Regions from separate parts of the Homo sapiens genome. Here region 2 is linked to region 1. Evidence: promoter capture Hi-C in human tissues and cell types (Jung and others, 2019). All regions are on one chromosome and are shown on one strand. Each heading gives the region's core, a stretch centred on a gene start or on the middle of the fragment in contact. The rest is flanking DNA. Distances are from core to core; before and after follow the strand shown.

Region 1 (4,725 bases), core at 598-3,097:
TGACACAAGCAGCTTTTCCCGTGTGCCAGCCATTTCAGACCTCACATTTGAACAGCGTGCATGCAACACGGACCGGGAGGGGGTTGGGGGTTGGGGGGCTGAGGGGCGAGGAAGAAGAATGAGAAACAAAAACAAAACCGACCATGAAACTTCCAACAAAACTGGAAAGGCCAACATGTCAAAAAGTTACTCCTCCACCTCCGTGGGTCAAAACGCAACAGGTTCCGAAGTGCAAAGCAAACGCCAACTGCTGCCGCACACAACCGCCTGCTTTCGAGTTGGCTGCCGAAGTGCGGGTCTGAAATGATCCTGCGAATTCACAGGCCTGCTCGCCCGCGCCCTTGCGCGCTTGGCCACTCCTGCCCCGCCTGGCCTCTCTGCCTCTACCTGGCACCTATACATTCTATGTACATACAAACCGGGCCCCCGGTCGCGGGAGGGCGCACGGGGAGGCCGCAGCGCTCGTACCTATACATATGTACACGTGTGCACACCGGTCCTCGCGAGGCGGCCCCGCGGGGTCATAGCGCGGCAGCGTAGGCCGCGGGGTAGGGGTCCAGCTGGGGCTTGCCCATGCCCGGCAGCAGGATGTAGGCGAGCGGCGGCTGCAGCCCGGGGCTGGGCCACGCGCTGCAGTTGCACGGGATCATGTAGCCCGGGTTGCCCGGGCTGGGGTGCGAGTGCGTGTGCCCCCCGGCGGCGGCGGCCGCCGCTGCAGCCGCCGCCGCCGCGCCGTGGAAGGCGCCCGCGCCCGCGGTCGGGTAGCCCAGCGACGACGCGTACGGGAGGCCGGACGAGGACGACGAGATCTCTGCCATTTTGGAGCCCAGGTCGAGCAGCGAGTAGGGGCTGCCCGCGGCGGCGGCGGCGGCGGCAGCGGCGGCGGCAGCGGCCGACTGCGGGAAGAAGACGCGTGCGGCGGCAGCGGCGGCGGCCGCGGCCGCCTTCTCGGGATTGGCGAGCAGCGACTCAGGCACCAGGCCGCCGCCCGCCCCCGCGTGCAGCCCGGCGCCCGCCTTGAGCGCAGGGTGCTCGGCGTCCGCCACGCCGCCCAGGCCGTAGGGCACCGGGAAGGCGAACTTGTCCTTCTTGAGCAGCGTCTTGGGCTTGCGCCGCGGCCGGTACTTGTAGTCGGGGTGCTCCTTCATGTGCATGGCGCGTAGACGCTTGGCCTCGTCGATGAACGGCCGCTTCTCCGACTCTGTGAGCAGTTTCCACTCGGCGCCCAAGCGCTTGCTGATCTCCGAGTTGTGCATCTTGGGGTTCTCCTGGGCCATCTTGCGCCGCTGAGCCCGCGACCACACCATGAAGGCGTTCATGGGCCGCTTGACGTGGTCCACCGGCTTGGACATGCTCTCGCCCTGCCGCGGCTGCAGCCCGCCGCCTCCCGGGCCCTCGCCCTCGGCCCGGAGGAAATCAATGTTGGCTGCCCGCGGAGACCCGCTCGGCCGGCCGGGGCTCGTCGCGCCCCGGCGTCGCTCCCGCCCCGGAGGAGGGGGCTGGGGGACCAGCCCAGGGCCACGCCGCGCCCCGGGCCGCCTTAGTGTCTCCGGCCGAGCGCTCGAGCAGGTTGTCTCTGGGACACTCTAACTTCTCGGCGGTGCCCCCTCCCCGCGGCGGCAGTTTGCCCTTTACGTTCTTTGGGTCCTTCGTCTGCAGTGGCGTTTGCTGGTGAGCTCCCCGCAGGTAGCGGCGGCCGGGCAGAGCGCTCCTCCTCCTCGGTCGTTCTCTCTTAAATGCAAAGCGTCCCCAAAAGTTGCGTCGCGGAGACTCCTCGAAGTTGAGCCGAGGAGCCCGCCGCCGCGTGCTGCCAAGTGCCAAAGGGGGCTCTCAGCGGCTGGAGTGTTTGGGTTCTCCTCGGTGACTTTCTCATTTGACAGAAGCAGATGGGGGTGGGGAAGGCGGGGAGGTGGCCCTGGAGGAGGAAGAGGAGGGGGAGGCGGAGGAGTGTCCAGGCGTGCCACGAGAACGCAGAGCGCAGCAATGGATATAAATACAAATACAGCAGCACCAGCCTGTCTTCTTGGCTCCGGGCAGGGTGCGCCGATGGGAAACCCCCAATCGGCTGGGTGATTTTTTTTTTTTGGAGGGGGGAGCTGTCCCCCGCAGCACCTGCCTCTCGAGTCTTCCTCTCCCGCTGCTGGACTGACGGGTGGGGCGAGGAAGGAGGGTGGATGAGGCTTGAGCAAGCGTTGGTCGCCCGGCCTCAGAGGAAGTTCTCCCGGCTCGCCGAGGAGCCGCGTCCGGCCGTCCCCTGGGCCATGCCGGCTCTGTTCGCTCCGAGCCCCTTCAGGCGCGCCTGCCGACTTAGGGCTCCCGGAGCTCGCCGGCCGCGGAGGGCAGCGCAGCCTCCACGCGGCGCCGCAGGCCTGGCACCGGCCGCGTCCCCGCCTCGCTCTTCTCGGCAGCCGCCTGGCACTTGCAACTAACTTCGCCCAAGTTTCCTGCGCCGCGGCGCCCCTCTCGGCGCGCTCCTGGGAGCGTGCGCCCGCGAGTCCGCCGCGCCCGGGGCCCCTCTGTCCTCGCTGCTGTGGCCAGAGCCGAGCCGGCGCAGGGGCGGAGGTGCTGCAGGAGAGTTAAGGAAAACGGGCCATCACCTCAGTTCGCAGGTCCGCGCTGTGGCACCTCCCGCTCTCCCCACTCCCGCGGCGCAGGGGGCCCCTTCCCAGCCCAGGCCGCCCTCTGCACCGGCTCAGGTGAGTGTGGCTACCTGCATGTGTGCGCGCCCGGAGCCGGCACTGGGTGTGCATGTCCAGCCGCGGCTGTGTGTGTATATCTGGGGGCCTGCGGAGGAGGTGGAGCCCAGGACTCGGGGAGGGAGGAGGGATCAGCGGAGCCGCCTCCCGCTCCCACACCCCCAGGACCTCGAATTAACAGATCCCCTCCGCCCCCCGCCCCCTCCCAATCCTCCTCCTCCCACTCCTTTTCACTTGAGAGCAGGTTTAGGCGAGTGGAGAGTCCGGAGCGCGCCGGGGAGTCTGCGCCCTGTTTGGCGTTGGCAAACCCTGGTGTCATCCCGGCTACCCAGGCCGGCCTGGCGTGCAGCTGCCCTGGTTGTGGCCCTGGAATCCTCGCCGGGAGGAAGAAGGCGGCGGGCACGAGTAGGAGAGCCTCTCCAGCTACGGAGGAAGAGGGTTAAACCTGGAGAAGGGGAGACTCACCCTTGAAAATGTTTGAGACTGTTCCTAGCAAGAAAGTGCTCATTTTCCTTGGAGGTCCAGGTGTTGCTTGCAACAGAAACAGAGGCTTCTCGCATTTTCTTGCACTGGCGATGCACCTAGTCAGAGGTAGTGGAGTGAAAAATAACTCTGGAGGGAATAAGGACATTCTTGGCAACCTTTCCAAAAAAGAGCTAGCCCAGACTGAGAGTATGCATCCTTGACTGACTATTCAGCTCTTTAAAAATTCTGTGTTGTTTGTCTTTTGTTGTAATCTTGGTCGCCAGAACCATCTATATACTGATCTCTTTAAGGTACAGTTAACTTACAGTGTCTCACTTACATGCGCTGCTGAGGTGAAGGTGTTTAAAATCAATAAGTGTAAGTAGTTTCCCTGGAAGAGAGAAGTAAAACGTACCAATCACTCAGTGCTGGAATATTTTTATGCTAAGCATAATTTCCTTCTTTAGTAGTTAGAGCAGTTTTTTAAAAAAAATAGTTAACACGATGCAGAAGTCAAACAGCATGATTCTGTTTCCGTATTTTCCTCACTTTTTGGTATGCTGCGGCACATTTAGAACATGATCTGTCTGGAGGTTTTATTCACATGGTGGCCTGCCCTTCAGGGAGAACTTGCTTGCCTTCTTTCTTTGGCAGTTTGGATTTGACCTAGCCCTGTGGTATGTGCAAGTAGGAACATCTACAAACGGTTAACTCTTTAAGTCTTCCTACGATTTATGTTCAGTTCATTCACACACACACACACACACACACACACACACACACAAAAGCTTTGATTGTAATTATGAACGTGAATTAAAACTGTTTCAGGCCATCAGATTTATGTAAAAGTTAGGCTTGTTTTGTTCATTTTAATAAAAGAATAGTGACTTAAAAATTACAGTCGTGATAACAAAACTGTGAACAGCAGTGGCATCTATGTGGGTTTTTGTTTTTCTGAAGATGTCGTATTGACAAGCTTATTTTGTATCGGTTATGCCCTTGCATTGTTAAAATAATTGGACTGATTTCTCCAGAACCATATTCCTTTACAGGCTCTGTAAAGACACTCTTGTCATTCACAGACTCTGGCTGGAGCAATGGGAAAACACTAGCATGTGTAATTACATAGACTGGAATATTAAATATACTGTTTTGTGATGATAAACTACAAAATTATCGTCCCTGAGCTTTTCACCTACTGACTTATAGGTTTGAGACAAAAATACTATACACTGGAACATAAAGAACATATGTATATATAGGCCACAAAACATGAAATCTGTTATTCACTAAATATTGTGAATAAAGTTAAATTTAATCGTGAAAATTATTTTGACACATAAAAAGGGAGAAGGATTGTGAAAATGTGTTTTATATTAGTGAGTTAAGTGATTTTATACTATTCAAATTTAAGTGTAAAAATCTACTGCAATAAATTATTACATTAGAAATGTTTGTATATATGATTGAAATGTATGCTTACATGTGCAATGTCTTATAGGAATAATATATGTAAGGTTCCTTGGCTATAGTTTTTTCCAGTATACATTTACAATATTGTCTG
Region 2 (4,725 bases), core at 811-3,310, 290 kb before region 1:
TGGGTAATTTACAAAGAAAAGAAGTTTAATTGACTCACAGTTCTGCATGGCTGGGGAGCCCTCAGGAAACTTATAATCATGGTGGAACGCACCTCTTCACAGGGTGGCAGGACAGAGAATGAGTGCAAGCAGAGGAATGTCAGATGCTTATAAAACCATCAGATCTCATGAGACTCACTCATTATCACTAGAACAGTATGGGGAAAACTGTTCCCATGATGCAATTGCCTTCATCTGATCCCACCCTTGACATGAGGCTATTGTGGACATTATAATTCCAGGTGAGATTTGGGTGGGGACACAGAGCCAAAACATATCAGGGAAGAATTCCTCAAGTGAAACCATATCACTAACCAACAGAAAATAGCAAAGGTAAAAGCAAGTACATGAGGTGTGTGAATTATGAAATTATGTTATATAAGACTGTGATACTTATCTTGCCAAAAGTTTCTCCCCCTTGCTAGCTTTAAAGAAACAAGCAAAAATGTTGGTAAGGCCCAGTAGCATCCAGATGACAAACAGCAAGTAACTGAGGCCTTCAGTCAAACAGGCCACTGGAACTGAATGCTGCCAATAACCATGTGAGCTGGGAAGCAGACCCTTCCCCAGTCCAGCCTCTGATGAGACATCAGCCCTGGCTGCTGCCTTCATTGCAGCCTTGTGAGACCCTGAGCAGAAAATCCAGCTATTCTGTGCCTGGATTCCAGACCCACAGAAACTGTGAGATAATAAATGTTTGTTGTTTTGCACCTTCAAGTTTGTGTCCATTTGTTACACAGCATCAATAATCAATACATGTGTACAGTACTTTATAAAGTTCAAGTTGACTTTTGGGTCATTTAACTTTCCTCCCCATTTTACCTTTTCTTCAAACCCTGCTTTCTTTCCCTGAAGGCATATAAAGTCCTAAATCAAGAGTCTAGTAAGAACCCACCACATCTTTCATTAATGCTTGAAACATAATCATAATATCTTTCAGAATTTTTTAAAAAATTATATGATAGTGTATGAAGGGGAAGGAGAGGTTCTGTTAAATATTTTCAGGGGCAAAATGGAGGAGACGACTCATTTCTATATATAGATTGAGTAACCCTTATTCAAAATGCTTGGGGTCAGGAGCCAGGGCTCACACCTGTAATTCCAACATTCTGGGAGGTTGAGGCAGGAGGATGACTTGAACTCAGGAGTTCAAAACCAGCCTGGGCAACATAGCAAGACCTCATATCTAGTAAAAATAAAAAAAAAATAGCTGGGCATGGTGGTGCATGCCTGTAGTCCCAGCTACTCAGGAGGCTGAGGTGGGAGGATCGCTTGGGCACAAAAAGTTGAGGCTGCAATGAGCCATGATTGCACCACTGCACTCTAGGCTGGGTGACAGAGTGAGACCCTGTCACAAAAAAAGAAAAAAAAGAAGAAAAGAAAAAAAGGTTGGGACAAGAAGTGTTTCGGATTTCAGATTTTTTCTAATTTTGGAAAACTTGCATATACATAATGAGATAGCTCATGGCGGGGACCTAAGTCTAAACATGATATTCATTTATATTTCATAGACACCTTAAACACATAGTCTGTATGTCCAATAATAATTTCATACAATATGTTTAATATTTTTGTACACGAAACAAAGTTTGTGTACACTGAACCATTTTACCACCATTTGTGGGTGTGCTTGCATAGGAGAATCTGGGTATGTTCAGAAAAGATATATTGCAGCCGAAGGGGGATGGGAGGGTCTTTTTCCTTGGCGTTGCTAAACAAACTATGTGTTGTGCATCTGCATTTTGGTTGCAACCTGTCACACGAGGTCAGGTGTGGAATTGTCCACTGGTAGCATCATGTCGGCACTCAAAAGTTTTCAGATTTTGGAGTATTTCAGATTTGGGATTTTTAGATTTGGGATGCTCAACCTGTTTAAAGCATTCAAGTTGTGTAGTGCCTTTATACCTTAAGAATATTGTTTCTGTTTTCACACCAGGACTAATGAAATTCTCATAACTGAGGGCTAAACAGTAGAGACTGTCCTTTGTTCAAAAGTAATATAAGAGTTCCCAAAAGCTAAGGAGAACTAAGGTTACTTTTGATCTCATGCTTTTCCCTACACTCCTTGAAGCCAAGGCTAGCAAGACCTCGTCTCTACTAAAAATTAAAAAATTAGCTGGGCATGCTGGTATGTGCCCAGCTAATAATATTATTACATATTAAAACCACTTTTGGTAATCCAAGCACTTTGGGAGGCTGAGGTAGGAGGATCACGAGGTCAGGAGACCGAGACCATCCTGGATAACACGGTGAAACCCCGTCTCTACTAAAAATACAAAAAATTAGCCAGGCGTGGTGGCAGGCACCTGTAGTCCCCACTACTCAGGAGGCTGAGGCAGGAGAATGGCGTGAACCTGGGAGGTGGAGCTTGCAGCGAGTCGAGTTTGTGCCACTGCACTCCAGCCTAGGCGACAGAGCGAGACTCGGTCTCAAAAAAAAGAAAAAAAAAAACAAAAACAAAAAAAAACACTTTTGTTTTCCCACTCTCTGAATCCAAAAACAAGCAAAAACACTTTACTCCATCTTTGTGGTTTTTTTGGTTCACAATAAATTACCAAACCATGAATGAAGAGACTGCCCAAAGTTATCAGTGTTCCAAATGACATAATGACATGACCAACTATATGTTATGTGCAAGAAATTTCCCTACCAATGAGTGTATGCGCTTCCCGGAAGGAGGCTCTACTGTTGATTATAGAAGGCGATGCAATCCTAGGTTTAATTTAGCTGCTAAGAAACTCAGAGCTAGATTCAGTGTCCAACTCTGTAACTAAACTGTGCTAGGAACAAAGTATTATTGATTCTTGTGTTCCTTCTGCTTTGTTGTTGTCCTTTTGGTGTTTTTAATTGTTCTCTGTTTTCCATTTTATTTACCTTTGTCAGCCAAAGCTTCTGAGGATAAGTAAGGCAAAAATTGCATGGAAACAAAATGGTCCTCCATTCCTTTTTATCATCAAAAAACATAAATTTCAGATTCACAAACATTAGTTCAGATTCAGTGAATGATCACTGAACCCCTTCTACATGCCAGCAACTTTTTAAATGTTTTCATACATGTTATTAAGTCAATCCTTGCTTAGAAAAGGAATTTAGTCTCAGATCTCTGCCTTTTAGTTCAGTGTTCTGTGTTCTTTCTGTTGTATTACGGAGTTTCTCCTTGTAAGCTTGACAGGGTCTTCAAGATCATTTAATCCCAACACCTCCTTCCCCAATTTTACAGATGGACAAAATAAAGCACTGAGAGGTCACCTTGCCTCACCTTGCTTACCCAAGATCAGCTGCTAGCCAATGGAAAACTTGGGATTAAATGTCCCCAGTCTCCTGTCTCTGGGCCCACAATGTTGGCTCTCCCCAAGCTCTTTGTCTTTCCCTCCTCCTTGCCATTTAATCCTTTCCATTTTCCTGACATCCAGGACCATGTTGTTGATTTCATTACCTCTATCTCAACAATTTGGTGATCACTTCTGGCAGATGAGTTTGCAAACTAGTACTTCCAGCTCTGAACTTCCTCTGGGGTGGCAATTTGCATCTATAATTCCCTAAAGGTCACTGAATAAAATAATTTAAACTGTTATTATTTATTTATTCAATTATCCAAATAATATATATATTATATAGTATAATATATATAATCTATACTATATATTATATAGTATAATATATTATATAGTATATTATAATATATATTATATATTATATAATATATAATATAATATAATAAGTGATTTCTATGTGCCAGGCACTGTTCTGGGCATTGTATTCATGATACTTACTTTATGTGTGGGAGACAGACAATAAACAAAATGAATAAGGAAAGGGATAGGATGTTAGATAATGTTAAGTGTTAAAGGGAAAAACAAATGAGAGAGAGGGATATGAAGTGCCAAGGTGGGGAATTGAAATTGTACGCAGGGTGGTCGGGAAAGACCCCACCAAGAAGGTAGCTTTTGGGTAAAATCATGAGAGAAGTAAAAGAGCAAGCATGCCTGTGTCAGGGAGAAAAGTATTCCAGAGAGAGAGAACAGTATGTGCAAATGCCCTGAGACATAACATGCTATTGAGGAACAGCTAGGAAACCGGCATGACTGGCATGGCGTGAGCAAGACAGCGGGAGTTGTAGGAATGAATTCAGAGAGGGAAGAAGAGAGGTAGATCGCATGGGTCTTTTAAGTCATTGTAAGGTTTTGGCTTTTCCTTGAGTGAGGGGGGCATAGCTGGGGGGTTTTAATGGGGAGTGACAGGATGACTTCTGCTGCTGAGGGAGGCTGTGTGAGGACAAGGGCAGAGGCAGGATCTGCTTAGGAGGCAATTACAGTTGTCCAGAAGAGAGGTGATGGGGGCTTGGAGATGATAAGAGGTGATCCACACCCCATATAGGGCTACATAAAGGCAGCACTGACTAGACTTACTCATGGTATAGACATGGAATGTGAGGAAAAGAGAGAAGCTCGACTTTAGCTTGACCAGTGGAAGGATGGAGTTGCCATTCAGTGAAATGGGACAATGCAGAGAGGAACAGAATTGGGAGCGGACTATCTAGGGCTCAGCTTTGGACATGTTAGGTGTAAACTGTCCTTTAGACGTCACAGCAGGAAGGTAGAGTAGGAAGTTGAGTATAAGGAGCACTCCTTAGCACCGTTCTCCAACGTTTTTCTCTAAAGAATTTTTCAGCATATTGCATATTAT

Evidence for each region. Contacts are between HindIII fragments. The study calls those that stand out against the background at their distance.
Region 2: a contact is called between a fragment that was not itself captured here and the fragment with the promoter of SOX21 in region 1, in 1 of the 25 tissues and cell types used here (lymphoblastoid cells).

Annotation. Positions count from the first base shown.
Region 1 is chr13:94,710,698-94,715,422 of GRCh38, forward strand. It overlaps SOX21 (SRY-box transcription factor 21), which reads right to left and starts at 1,848. Exons shown (of 1, transcript NM_007084.4): 1 at 1-1,848. The coding sequence starts at 1,352. The coding sequence ends at 522. It overlaps SOX21-AS1 (SOX21 antisense RNA 1), which reads left to right and starts at 2,019. Exons shown (of 2, transcript NR_046514.1): 1 at 2,019-2,696; 2 at 2,941-4,725. LOC112268114 (a long non-coding RNA gene) reads right to left here and starts at 2,746. Exons shown (of 2, transcript NR_158368.1): 1 at 2,711-2,746; 2 at 2,023-2,565. RefSeq lists an enhancer at 2,572-3,073. The HindIII fragment of the contact is 11,141 bases long and covers 1-4,725 here.
Region 2 is chr13:94,420,953-94,425,677 of GRCh38, forward strand. No RefSeq gene overlaps it. Among named protein-coding and RNA genes, the nearest start is that of DCT, 56 kb to the right of the region's middle. The HindIII fragment of the contact is 3,916 bases long and covers 103-4,018 here.